2 separate regions of the Homo sapiens genome follow, and region 1 is linked to region 2. Evidence: promoter capture Hi-C in human tissues and cell types (Jung and others, 2019). All regions are on one chromosome and are shown on one strand. The core of a region is centred on a gene start or on the middle of the fragment in contact, and the rest is flanking DNA. Distances in the headings are between cores, read along the strand shown.

What was found. Contacts are between HindIII fragments. The study calls those that stand out against the background at their distance.
Region 1: a contact is called between a fragment that was not itself captured here and the fragment with the promoter of PCLO in region 2, in 1 of the 25 tissues and cell types used here (hippocampus).

The regions. Positions count from the first base shown.
Region 1 is chr7:83,201,988-83,207,697 of GRCh38, forward strand. No RefSeq gene overlaps it. Among named protein-coding and RNA genes, the nearest start is that of PCLO, 42 kb to the left of the region's middle. RefSeq lists an enhancer at 2,641-3,263. The HindIII fragment of the contact is 6,136 bases long and covers 1-4,375 here.
Region 2 is chr7:83,161,129-83,166,745 of GRCh38, forward strand. PCLO (piccolo presynaptic cytomatrix protein) reads right to left here and starts at 1,756. Exons shown (of 25, transcript NM_033026.6): 1 at 1,217-1,756. The coding sequence starts at 1,464. RefSeq lists a silencer at 1,399-1,488 and an enhancer at 1,609-1,678. The HindIII fragment of the contact is 31,773 bases long and covers 1-5,617 here.

The DNA of each region.
Region 1 (5,710 bases), core at 58-2,557, 40 kb after region 2:
TATTTTGGCTTTTTGTCACTTAAAGGTGAGAAAAATCTATAATTTGAAAAATGTTTGACATCAATGGCAAAATAAATTAAAAAACAAAAAAAGTTTTTGTGTCCCTTTCTTTTACCCTTCCTCCCTCCCTCTTTCTTTTCCTCCCTCCTTCCCTGTCTGTTTTCCTCCCTCCCTCCCTCCCTTTTAAAATTTTTTTTAAATACGAAAACTGAAATTTGGCAAGGCATTTTATTTAAAAATTCTGTCCTCTCTATTGTAGATCTGAAAGCTTGTAAACAATTTTTTGTGGTGTTCTTTGTAGTGCCACTCATAGTGATAATTGTGGTAGTCTTTGATAGCTATTCTTGGTGTTCATACATGGATGCACACAGCTTTAAGAAGAAAGACTGCTATTACCAATGTAATTGAATCAAACTCATTATTGGACAATGACTAGCTTGCATACATTACTAAAGACACCTTTAGAAAGATTTCACTGGTGAATTTTTTGGGATAATAGTATAAAGAAACAAAAAACTGTTCAATTTAATATGTTATTATTATGTTAATATGATAATATGTTAAGAATATGCTATACACATATTCTTCATATAGGTAAGATCAAATTTGGGGTAGCATATGCCAGCTAAAGTGCTTTGTTAAAACTCTCTTTTACTTTCACATCTGTTCCTTTATCTTTTCATTAATATTTAGAGACAACATATACTATTCATTATTAGAATGCTCACAATAAACTTTAACAATATTTGAATTATGACACATAGGTAAAGAAAGTTTCATTCTCTACTATCTGACCCTTATGATTAGTTTATGGACTATAACCAGACCACCACAAAGACAAAATAAAAAATTATATGTAAGAACAAATATATGGAATAAAAAGCATAATATTTATTAGTGTAATTGTAGTTGTACTCTCACAGAAGGAAAGCATTAGTTAAGGTACAGAAATAATAAAAAAGAAGAACAGTTGGTATAATTTTGAGATTGCTTTTAGTTTTGATTTTGCCTTGTTTTGCTTTAATACAAAAAGGTATTAAATACTAATAAGCAACATCTTATTTTGTTCACTTTAATTTTAATATCAAGATCACTGTATTCCTATCATATTTTCATTCTGATCTCTCACTATTTTCCAACAGTGATTCAAGTGTGACTGATCCATTTGCCGTTCCCTAAAATCACTTTTTTCTTTCCTGTCTCTATACTTTGTTTACAGCTCATCTTCACCGAGAGACCTGTAACACCTATTGAAATCCACCCACTTACCTTTCATGTCCAGAGCTACCCAAGCTGCTTCTGATCCACACAGATAAAATATATCACCCTTCACAGCTAATATTAACTCTTTGGTTCAGGAAATGTGTGCCCTCCTAAATTTAAAACTCTTTGGACATAACTGTAATTTCCTTTAATAACCACTATCTCTTTTCTAATGACTGCTTCTTATCTATCACGTCCTTCCAGTTTTTGAACTTATTTTGTTCATATTTGGTAGTACCAACTTGAGCAAATCTTTAGAGAAGGCCCAAACATAGCACAGTACCAGCAACCATAGACATCTAAAAATGTATTTATTGTTCCCTCATATTTAAATGAGAATTTGCCTGAATAATGAACTCTGAGTTCTTCTTTTACCTGTCTTTTGAGATTTTGAAAACATACTTCATTTTCTTCTTGTGTCTATTATGAAAGATAAGATGTCTGAAGTCCACCTGTTTTTTGAACTTCTTTATAAATAAGTTGTAGAAGGTTTTGTTTTAGGGGTTGCAATACTTTTCCAGGGTCTGTATAAGTGCTGGTCTTTTCTTAGTTATTTTGCTCAATCCAAAGAGTTCCTTTCCGTCTGAAGAAGGATGTTTTTCTTCAAGTCAAGGAGACCTTCTTTTCTTATTTGTTTGATTTTCTGCTCTCTTATCTTTTTATCTGTTTCCACCAATATCTCTTTTTAGGAAGATATGGCAAGTTCTTTCATTTCCTAAAATTTTTAGAGCACCTTCTTGACTCATCTTTGGGTTATTCGTTTGGCCTATCATTATTTAAATCTAATATCCAGCCCTTTCATTGATTAAAAAAAACTTTTCGATCTATTTTGAACAGTTCTCAAACTTTTTGTTGTTTTCTGATTGCTTCTTTTTATAGAAGCTTGATTTTGTTTTCGGATGCAGCATCCTCTATAATCCTTCTGAGGACATCCATCAGAATTTTTTTTTCTTTTGTTCCCTAAATTATCTGTTCTCTTCCTTGTCATTTGTTCTGATTAAGCCTTCTATTTCATGCTGTTAATTTTCCTAAATTGTGCTGATCTTTGGTTTCCTAGACATACATTTAGGTGGCCAGCAAAGATTTTCTCAGCAGTTGTGTCATCTGTCTCTCACAAAAGCATCCTTCTCAGTGGGAGGGTTAATAAAGCTGAATTATTTTTTATCTCCAGAGCTTCATCTTTCTGCATCAAAAATCCTGTCAAACTTTTCCTGGGCACTTTCTAGAATGGGTGTAACTAGTCCCTATATGACCCAGTCTCTAAGTGCACATATTTTCTCTCTTTTCAAAACTGTATGCAAAAAGCTCTTAACTACTTGATTAAACTCCCACTGTGTTTTTTCTTTCCTTTTTGTTCTCATAAGAATATAAACGCAATTTTCCCCTTCCTAATTTTCTCTCTTTCTTTCCAAGGCCTTGCTGACCTTACTTATTTCATTGAATTCATTGCCTTTCTACATTATATTTCAGCTAAGTAACCCATTTTCTTCTCCTTTTGAAGAATTGAACTTCATCTGGCACTTCTAGTCAATTCTGATCACTCTACAATCTTTGTAACTTGCTCTCCTGTCTTTCTGTTGCTCACCATGCGGATGACTCAAATATCTGTCAGTGGTCAAAGATCTGGGAGGAGATCTGGGAGGTATAGTTAAATGGTGTCCTTTGTCTAAACCCATTTACCTGAAATGGGAGACTCACTGAACAGTGTACCTGCTGGGCTATTTCTTTGACTAGAGAAGAATGTATTCTCATTGATTTTCTCTTCCTCAAACCTTTTCTCCATGTCTTCATTCACCACTTCTCTTTTTCAAGGCTGCGTCCATTACCATCCCCTTCTCTTTGAAATCTTTGGATCTCCAAATGGGAATTGCCTACCTTTTTCTGCTGCTGTATAAAGGGAGGCAGCAGAAATATGTAGGAGAGGAGAAAGCAAATCAGGGTAAGCAGGAGGGACTTTGTGACTTTAGATAAGAGAGAAAATATTTTGCAAATATTAAATATTTGATTTCGTTTTGCCCTCAAAACGTATTCTTTTGCAGCCTTCTGAATTCAAGTCCTAATCCCATAGTGTATTACGCAGGAAGAAATAGAAAGGTAAATCCTAGAAGAAAGAAGCCACTTGTCAGGATTGAGTCCTGAGGCTGAATTTCTTCACATCTTTAGCATGACAATGATTATCAATGCTAGAAACACTTATAAAGAAATAAGTTTCTAAATTACTTTAGATGCTAGCATATTGATATTTGAGGTCTCTCTTACTCTAACCACAGCAGAGATCTCAGGAGATTCAGATAATTCCAATGTTAATTCAATGACCTTCTTAATCTCTCTTTTATTGCATGGTTACATAAACTCCTACTCCATGTACATTGATACCGTCTAGAGAGGAGCATGAGAGCGCCGTACCTGGGACATATTTGAGCACATCCCTGAGACATCCAAGCAGAGGATGAATTACCTGAAAAGACTATTTAAATTATGATATATGCAATTACTTATTTATACATTTAATTATCTATATTTATTATTGATAAATATTATTTTATATGTCTTATTTTTATTTACTGAGAATTTACTATGCGCTCAGTAAATATATTAGAAATAGAGTGACAAAACAGAATAATGAATCCCCATTCTTATGGAGCTTTTATTCTACAAAAATTATTGGATCACAATAAGTTCACCAACATTGGACCAAACATTTATTTTCTGAACACTGTGACTTTTTTTGTTTTTTTTGTGTAAAGTCTTTGGTAGTTCCCTGGCCCTTTTAGCACCTTTGCATCTTCTTCATAGAGCACAGGAGCAATTTAGAGTCCTTTATATGTGAGGCAACACAAAGGATCATATTGTCAAATCCAAGTGACACACAAGTCAGATATATTACCCAGTGTCTAACTTTCCTAAACAATGTCAAAAATACAAGTAAGTATCCAGATGAAGAAGGAAAATGTCTGGATACACCAGGTCCCAGGTCCTAGGTGCTTCCTTCACAGATCGGTCATGCTCTATGACCAAGAAAAATACATGAGATCTTTAATGAAGTGCACAAGGCTGCCTTACACAACAGGGAACATCTCAGTTATTTAATATCCTCATTTATACTTATATATTTGCATAGCACATATGACAGAGTCTGCAGTCATGCTTCATGAATCTGTAGATTCTATAATTGTTTACCATAAGCAACCCTAAACCAGGAATATCCTGTTAAAAGAATTCCATAGGTAAAATTCTCTTCCTGATAAATATTGGTTTATTTTCCAGGAGGTTTGTTATTAGTACTTTTACCAGAAGATTAGACCAGATTGCCTGCTTTTTTCTTCCCCAGGAATATCCTGGCCTCCCTTCCTATAGGATTAACAGGGATTACAGGACAGTTGTTTAACTCCATCTTTTCCAAAATGGAACAAGTTCTGAAGAACCAAGACCACAGTCTTAGGCTCATCTATTTATCTGCTTTTCTCTGCCATGTTCATGTACCTACTAATAGGGCATTTTGATATGGCAGAACTGAAAGGGGAATATTTCCTAAGGGCCTGCAGCTTTCTGACACTTTCCTCCCCTGGTTAAATTTGGAAGCCTCTATGGCACCCAACCTGAGCTGCGGACCAGGTGGGAGCATGAGGGAGGATAAGAACTCTGCCTCTGATATCCTTGCTCCTTCTCACTCTCCCTTTTAATTTCCAATAATCTACCAGAACATGAATGACTGGATTTTTCTCTCTTTCTCCTCATCCTTTATAAAAAAAATTGATGTTCTAGTATGCTCTTAACATCTTAAAAGTAGGGCCAAAGGGACTTAGAATTTTTAAAAATTTCATGACAAAGTACAGTTTTCAAAATTTCTTCAAAGGAATCAAGAAAGCTAGTCCAGTAATTGAAAGTTAACATGACGTCCCTTTGTTTTAAGCAAAAGCATTTATTTTCCATGTATACCAGAAAGTCTAGAAATCAATGACTTTTGAAGCTGGTTTAGTAGCTCAGTAATGTCAGGGCCAGAGTTTCTGATCTTTAGCCTTGTCCTCCTTTCTTTCTCCTCATTGTCTAGTGAATGATGCTTCATCTCCAGACAGCACATAGGTGCTAAAAGCAGAAAGAAGGATACAAAGAGAAGTGACAGTCTCATTTTTCCACTAATTACAAAGAGAAACCCTCTCAGGACTTGCAAAAGGATGCTCTTTCAATCTCACAGACCTGAAATATATTATATGGTATTCCCTAGCACTAGAGAGGCTAGACAAATGAATATTTTTCATGGGATAAGAAATAATGTTGCTGTAAACAAAATTATATTTTGGTTAGTAAAAAAAGAAGGGAGAAATTTAAGATTTGGCTTATAATTAATTTTGTCAGTCACAGACCTATATACTTGTTTCTAGTGTATCACATGTGCACACATATGCTCACCCACTTACATAGTCTTTTATCATCATTGAGTTAACAT
Region 2 (5,617 bases), core at 506-3,005:
CATTTAAGATTTTATGTGAAAATATTGTCACTATCCATAAAACATTTTACATTTCTCCTATAATTATTTGGCAAAATTATGCTTACGTGATAGTGACTAAGTTAATTTTTTTTTTATTTTATAAAGTGGAGGATAAGGATCTACACCTATATATCCAGGTCTTTCGTGCTTACAGTATCTCAAATGAAAAATTGTAGGTTTGCCTTCAGTTGTCATAAAAGAGGAATTGTTTCAGAACCACGGACAGAAAACTGTTCTCTACTAGAGGGTGCAAAGTTAAAGGGTTTGTTTACAGTAAGAAAGGCAAGGCAGGCACAATGATTATACCCCTCTCAGTACTCTAATTAGAAAACAACTAATCTATTGGGATGAAGGAAAATGGAGAGTTACAGGCGGAAATGAAAACATTCATATTACTGATTAGCTCTTATACTTGCCTATGCAAGTTGCCATTTATTTGCTTTGTTTTTAAAAGTATGTATTGAAAATTATTTTCTAAGGTAATAAAATTCACATGTTCTTCCCTAAACTGAAGGCCACTTTTGCATAAAACAGAGCAGTGGCTTAAAAATAGCATATGCTAATTTAGAAATATATGTACAGCACCTGCTCTGCTGTGACCAAACCATCTGTTTAATGCCACACATATTTTAGGGTTCCTCAATGAATATAAAAGGTATATTCATTCTATTCCTTCTACCTAAACAGCTTCTGCTCTCCTCTGGGGGTGGGGTGGCAAGAGAGGACAAATCACCTACAAGGGGATTAAAGTTACAGAAATATTTAGACATCATTCACAGAGAAAAAGACCCGCAATGGCCAAGAGGTTTAAACAGAGACAGGTAAACACCCAGCTCTATCCATTTCCTAACACGTCCGTGTTGTATTAATGGAAGACTTCCAGATTAGTAAAACACTGGAGGGCGTCTCTCCACGCCATCCTAGAGGGGAAGGGCTACAAAAGGCCAAAAATCACAACCTAAAATCACAGTTCCAAGAATGTAACCCTTGACTATCCCACCAGAAACTCTACAATGCATCATTTTTATTCCGCCCATCACAAGGCTTAGGATCTCTCTATGGCCACCCCACTGGGGAGAATAAAATGAACGGAGGCGACATATATGTACCGCCGTGCTGGCACATACAGGCTGGCACATATGTGCACGGGAAGCTGTACATATATGCCCGGACATATACATCATGCTGTGCATGCCTGTGCATGGAAGGCGACTCCGCAGCGGCCGGGGGGACGCTTCCCTTGGGCAGCCCCTGCGCCCTTGACATGACAGCGGCGATCTGTCTCCTCTCCTCTTCGCTCAGCTGGCTCAAATCCGCCTCCATGCCGGCCGGGATCGCGGTGTGAGAGGGGCTCCCCGCCCCGCTAGCTCCTCCTCCAGCCGCTGCGGCCGCCGCCAGCCCTTCGGGGAGCCCTTCCCCTTCCAAGCTCGCCTCGTTGCCCATGGCTCAGGGAGACTCGGGGCCGCCGCGCTCCCTCCTCGCGCCGCGTCCCAGTCGAGAAGCCCGCGGCCAGGGGAGCAGTCAGAGCCGGGGTCCGCCTCGGGGCGTGCAGGCAGCCGAGTCCCTGGACTCTGGACCAGGCACTGCCGCCCGGAACGCCAGGCAGGGGTTAGTCCCGCTCGCAGGTAACGCCCGCTGCCGGTGCCTCCTCCATGTTGGACAGCGCCAGGCAACCTTTGCAGAAGACACCTCCCGGACGCCGCCTCGGCGCCCCGAGCCGGGGAGAAGCAGATCTGAGCGGTGCCAGCCGGGCGCCGTCCGCCCCTCCCACCGCGCACCGCCTCCTCGCCCGCGCCCTCTCAGTGCGCAGGCGCCTCTCGGAACAGGTGATGCCCGCGGCCCACGCCCACCCCATCCTGCGTCGCTCCGGATCCTTCCTCGCTCTCAGCACCGATTTAAAGGAGCCCAGTGAACGCCCGGCTAAAAACAGGGAAGAAACAGGCGACGTTTCTTTCAGGCATATTTCAGGATGCCTCACTGGAGTTTTAGCTTACTAGACACCTAGATTTAAAGGGGGCGGGAGGGGCAGGAGAGGAAATGTCTGTTTTCAGCTTTGGCTCCTGGGATTTGTAGTTTCATTTATTTTCTTTAAAAGAAGGTTTTAAAACATTCTAGGAAAGGGTTCAAGTAACTGAAGATTAGCAAGAGAGACCCTGATACCTTTGAGGCACATTTCCCAAGGGAGCTAAGAATGGCCCTTTTCATTTAGAACTTTCACAGAACAATTAAATTGTTAATTAGATTATTTAAAATGATACAATATTAGTAAGCAGCTAAGGTTTTGAGTGCTTATAACTAGTTCCCTAAAGGGAGGGACTACACAATAATAAAGGATTATGGGAAGTTGTGGACGTGGGGTTCTGCAGTAATATCGAGATTGTAAAAATATTAAAATGTTTTAGTATGAAAGTTTGAAAACATGATTTTATTCCCCCGCCCCTTTTTTAACAAATGTGGACAGAAGAACCCCACGAAGTTCATTTAATGTGTGACTGTTAAGTTACAGTCACACAATTGGTTAGCAGCACGTTATCATAATAACCAGTTTTTGAGACCCACTTTCGACTATCACTCCTACACTTTTCTTGCTGTTACATTTCTTAGACGGGACTGTTCAGCACTGAATCTGCAGCCTCAATGTTGTTACCTACGTTTCCTCAGAATGTGAACTTAATGTCTCAACTGTTGAGGTTAGGTAATAGAGACTGAATAAATAAATCAAACAGAAATGAATAAGTTGCTCAGAAAGTAAGTCCAGGTTTTTGCAATAATCATTACATAGTTCGATCTTCTACCTTCCAAAGTGAATTTGTAGTTTTACAGTATAAAAGCACGAATAATTACAACTGATTTTTTTTTAAATGACAAAAATAATGCAGTCTCTTATGAGGGAACCAAATGCTAACATCTTTTGTAACAAATGCCGAAAAAAAATGACATAGTGTATATTAATACCCGTAACTGCTTTTGTGTGTGATGTAATGAGTAATAAAACTCAAGCTATTCTCATCCTTCGTATGTTTAAAAGTCCATGCATTTTTGTGTATGTATGAATATATACGATTGTATAACTATAGACAATATGGCTTATAATTTTTATATAGGTGCATATGAAGGTCTTTAATTAATATTCCTTCCTAACAGAAGGTGAGAGAGGATTGTGTTCATTGAGTGGAGCAAGAACCTGCAGTGGCTTAAGGTCCGACGCTTCATTTTTTGTTAAGGCCGAGTTACTTCTGAATTGCTGCTCTCAGCCATTTTTGTTAGCTCTACTTTAAAGTGGGATTTACAGTTAGAGTGGAAGAAATTCAAGTAAGGTTACAACTGATTATAAACTGGCTTCTCAATTTTGAGAGAAAAATCACGAGAAGTATTTTAGTGAAAAGTTTGATAAATTTAATTTTGAATTCTTAATATCTGAACCATCAATTTTTTCCTTTATACTTAGTCCAAAGTGTATCTGTAATTTAAATAAAAGAAAAACTCGTATTTAGAATGTGTTCCTATAGACATACAATGTATAAAATATTAAGTAATAAAATTAGTTTTGTCACTTTACAATATTTGTAAATTGAAAAATATTAATAAGTCATGAAGTTATAACTTAGATGATCAGCATTATTTATTCAACCATTTTATAAATGGAGTTTAGAATTTAGAACCCGCTTTTTGGAGAAAGGGTACATGTGTGCATGTCTTATACTTCAGGTTTTTTCTGTTGACGATGTCTGGTTTTAAATCCTAGCTCTGCATTCTTACAGCTATTTGGATTGGTAAGTCACTGACTTTTCAGATGTTGAGGTTCCTCAACTGTAAGAACAGAGAAAATAATACTACTAACATTACTACCTCTCAGGTTTGTTGTGACAACTAAATTAGAAAAAGCTGTGAATGCACTTGTAAACTAGAAATATGTTATCAGAATGTGGTATATGGTTACCAGGCTAGCCTGGGAAATTACTGAGTCTTCCATGCTCTGAAGAAGCCAAGGAGGTGGGACACATGGAGAGAGGATCCTAGCTGCCTCGGCTTCGTCCATCTCAGCTGAGGCTTTAGTGAGACCCCCGCCCCCCCGACCGCCTTAGCATAACCTACCCCAGCTGAGCTACCTACTGGCTACAATGACATCAATGAACCCAATGAGACCAGCAGAAGAACTACACAATCAACTGAAAGAATCAGAGAATTAATAATAATAATGATAATAATAAGATGCTTTTTTAAGTCAATAAGATTTTTTGGGGGGGCTAGTTAAGCTATATAACTGATATTCCAGGTTTTGCACATTATGATTATGCATAAGCCTTCAAAGTTTCCCTTCACTCTTTTAGTGACTTTTCTCAGTTACTGTCCAGCTGCACTTGAGTTGTTTGTTCAAAATTTCCAAATACCACCCTTCTAAACTATAAAGTGGAAAAGAACACAATTATCTTGAATACTTATATGCGTGTTTCATGAAAGGCTCAAACAAGAAAGTATATGTGAAGATGACTTTTAAACGATGTAGCATTACCCAGACGTAAAGTTATATAAGAAATGGAAGATTTGGCATGCCCTGGTGGCTCACACCTGTAATCCCAGCACTTTGGGAGGCCAAGGCGGGCGTATCGCGAGGTCAAGAGATCAAGACCATCCTGGCCAACATGGTGAGACCCTGTCTCTACCAAAATACAAAAAATTAGCCGGGCGTGTTTGCATGCCCTTGTAGTCCCAGCTACTCGGGAGGCTGAGGCAGGAGAATCACTTAAACCCGGGAGGTGGAGGTTGCAGTGAGCCGTGATCACACCACTGCATTCCATCCAGCCTTTGAACAGAGCAAGACTCTGTCTCAAAAAAAAAAAAAAAAAAAAAAAAAGAAAGAAAAGAAAGGGAAGATTTATTTATAAGAATTTTCTGAGGAACATCAATGTATTTATTTGAGAATTCGTTTGGAGTCAGGTGACACTCTCAAGGTCCTACTCAAGAGGATTAGACTATAGGTTTACATCCCTGGGTAAAATGCTTGGGGTCAGAACTTCAAAATTATTTGTGGGATTTTACAAAGTTAATAAGATAAACTGTACATTATATAATAGTACTTTTAATATTTATCCAGGAAAACCTGTTAATAGTCACATTTACCTCTAAAGGAGTTAAGATGAAATCAACTAGAAGATGCTCAGTTTTTCTGAGTCTGGTGATGGATTGGAGTTCATACATACATATATAGATGGAGTTTTGCTCTCGTTGCCCAGGCTGCAGTGCAATGGCGCGATCTTGGCTCACCGCAACATCCACCTCCCGGGTTCAAGAGATTCTCCTGCCTCAGCCTCCAGAGTAGCTGAAATTACAGGCATGCGCCACCACACCTGGCTAATTTTGTATTTTTAGTAGAGACAGGATTTCTCCGTGTTGGTCAGTCTGGTCTCGAACTCCTGACCTCAGGAGATCTGTCCGCCTTGGCCTCCCAAAGTGCTGGGATTACAGATGTGAGCCAATGCACCAGGCCTGGAGTTCAGATATTTTTAAAACAGCATGGGCTTATTTAAGTGTTCTGTAGAATAAAGATAAAACAACTTGAATTGGTAAGGTAGCATGAATTGGAGGACAAAAGTAG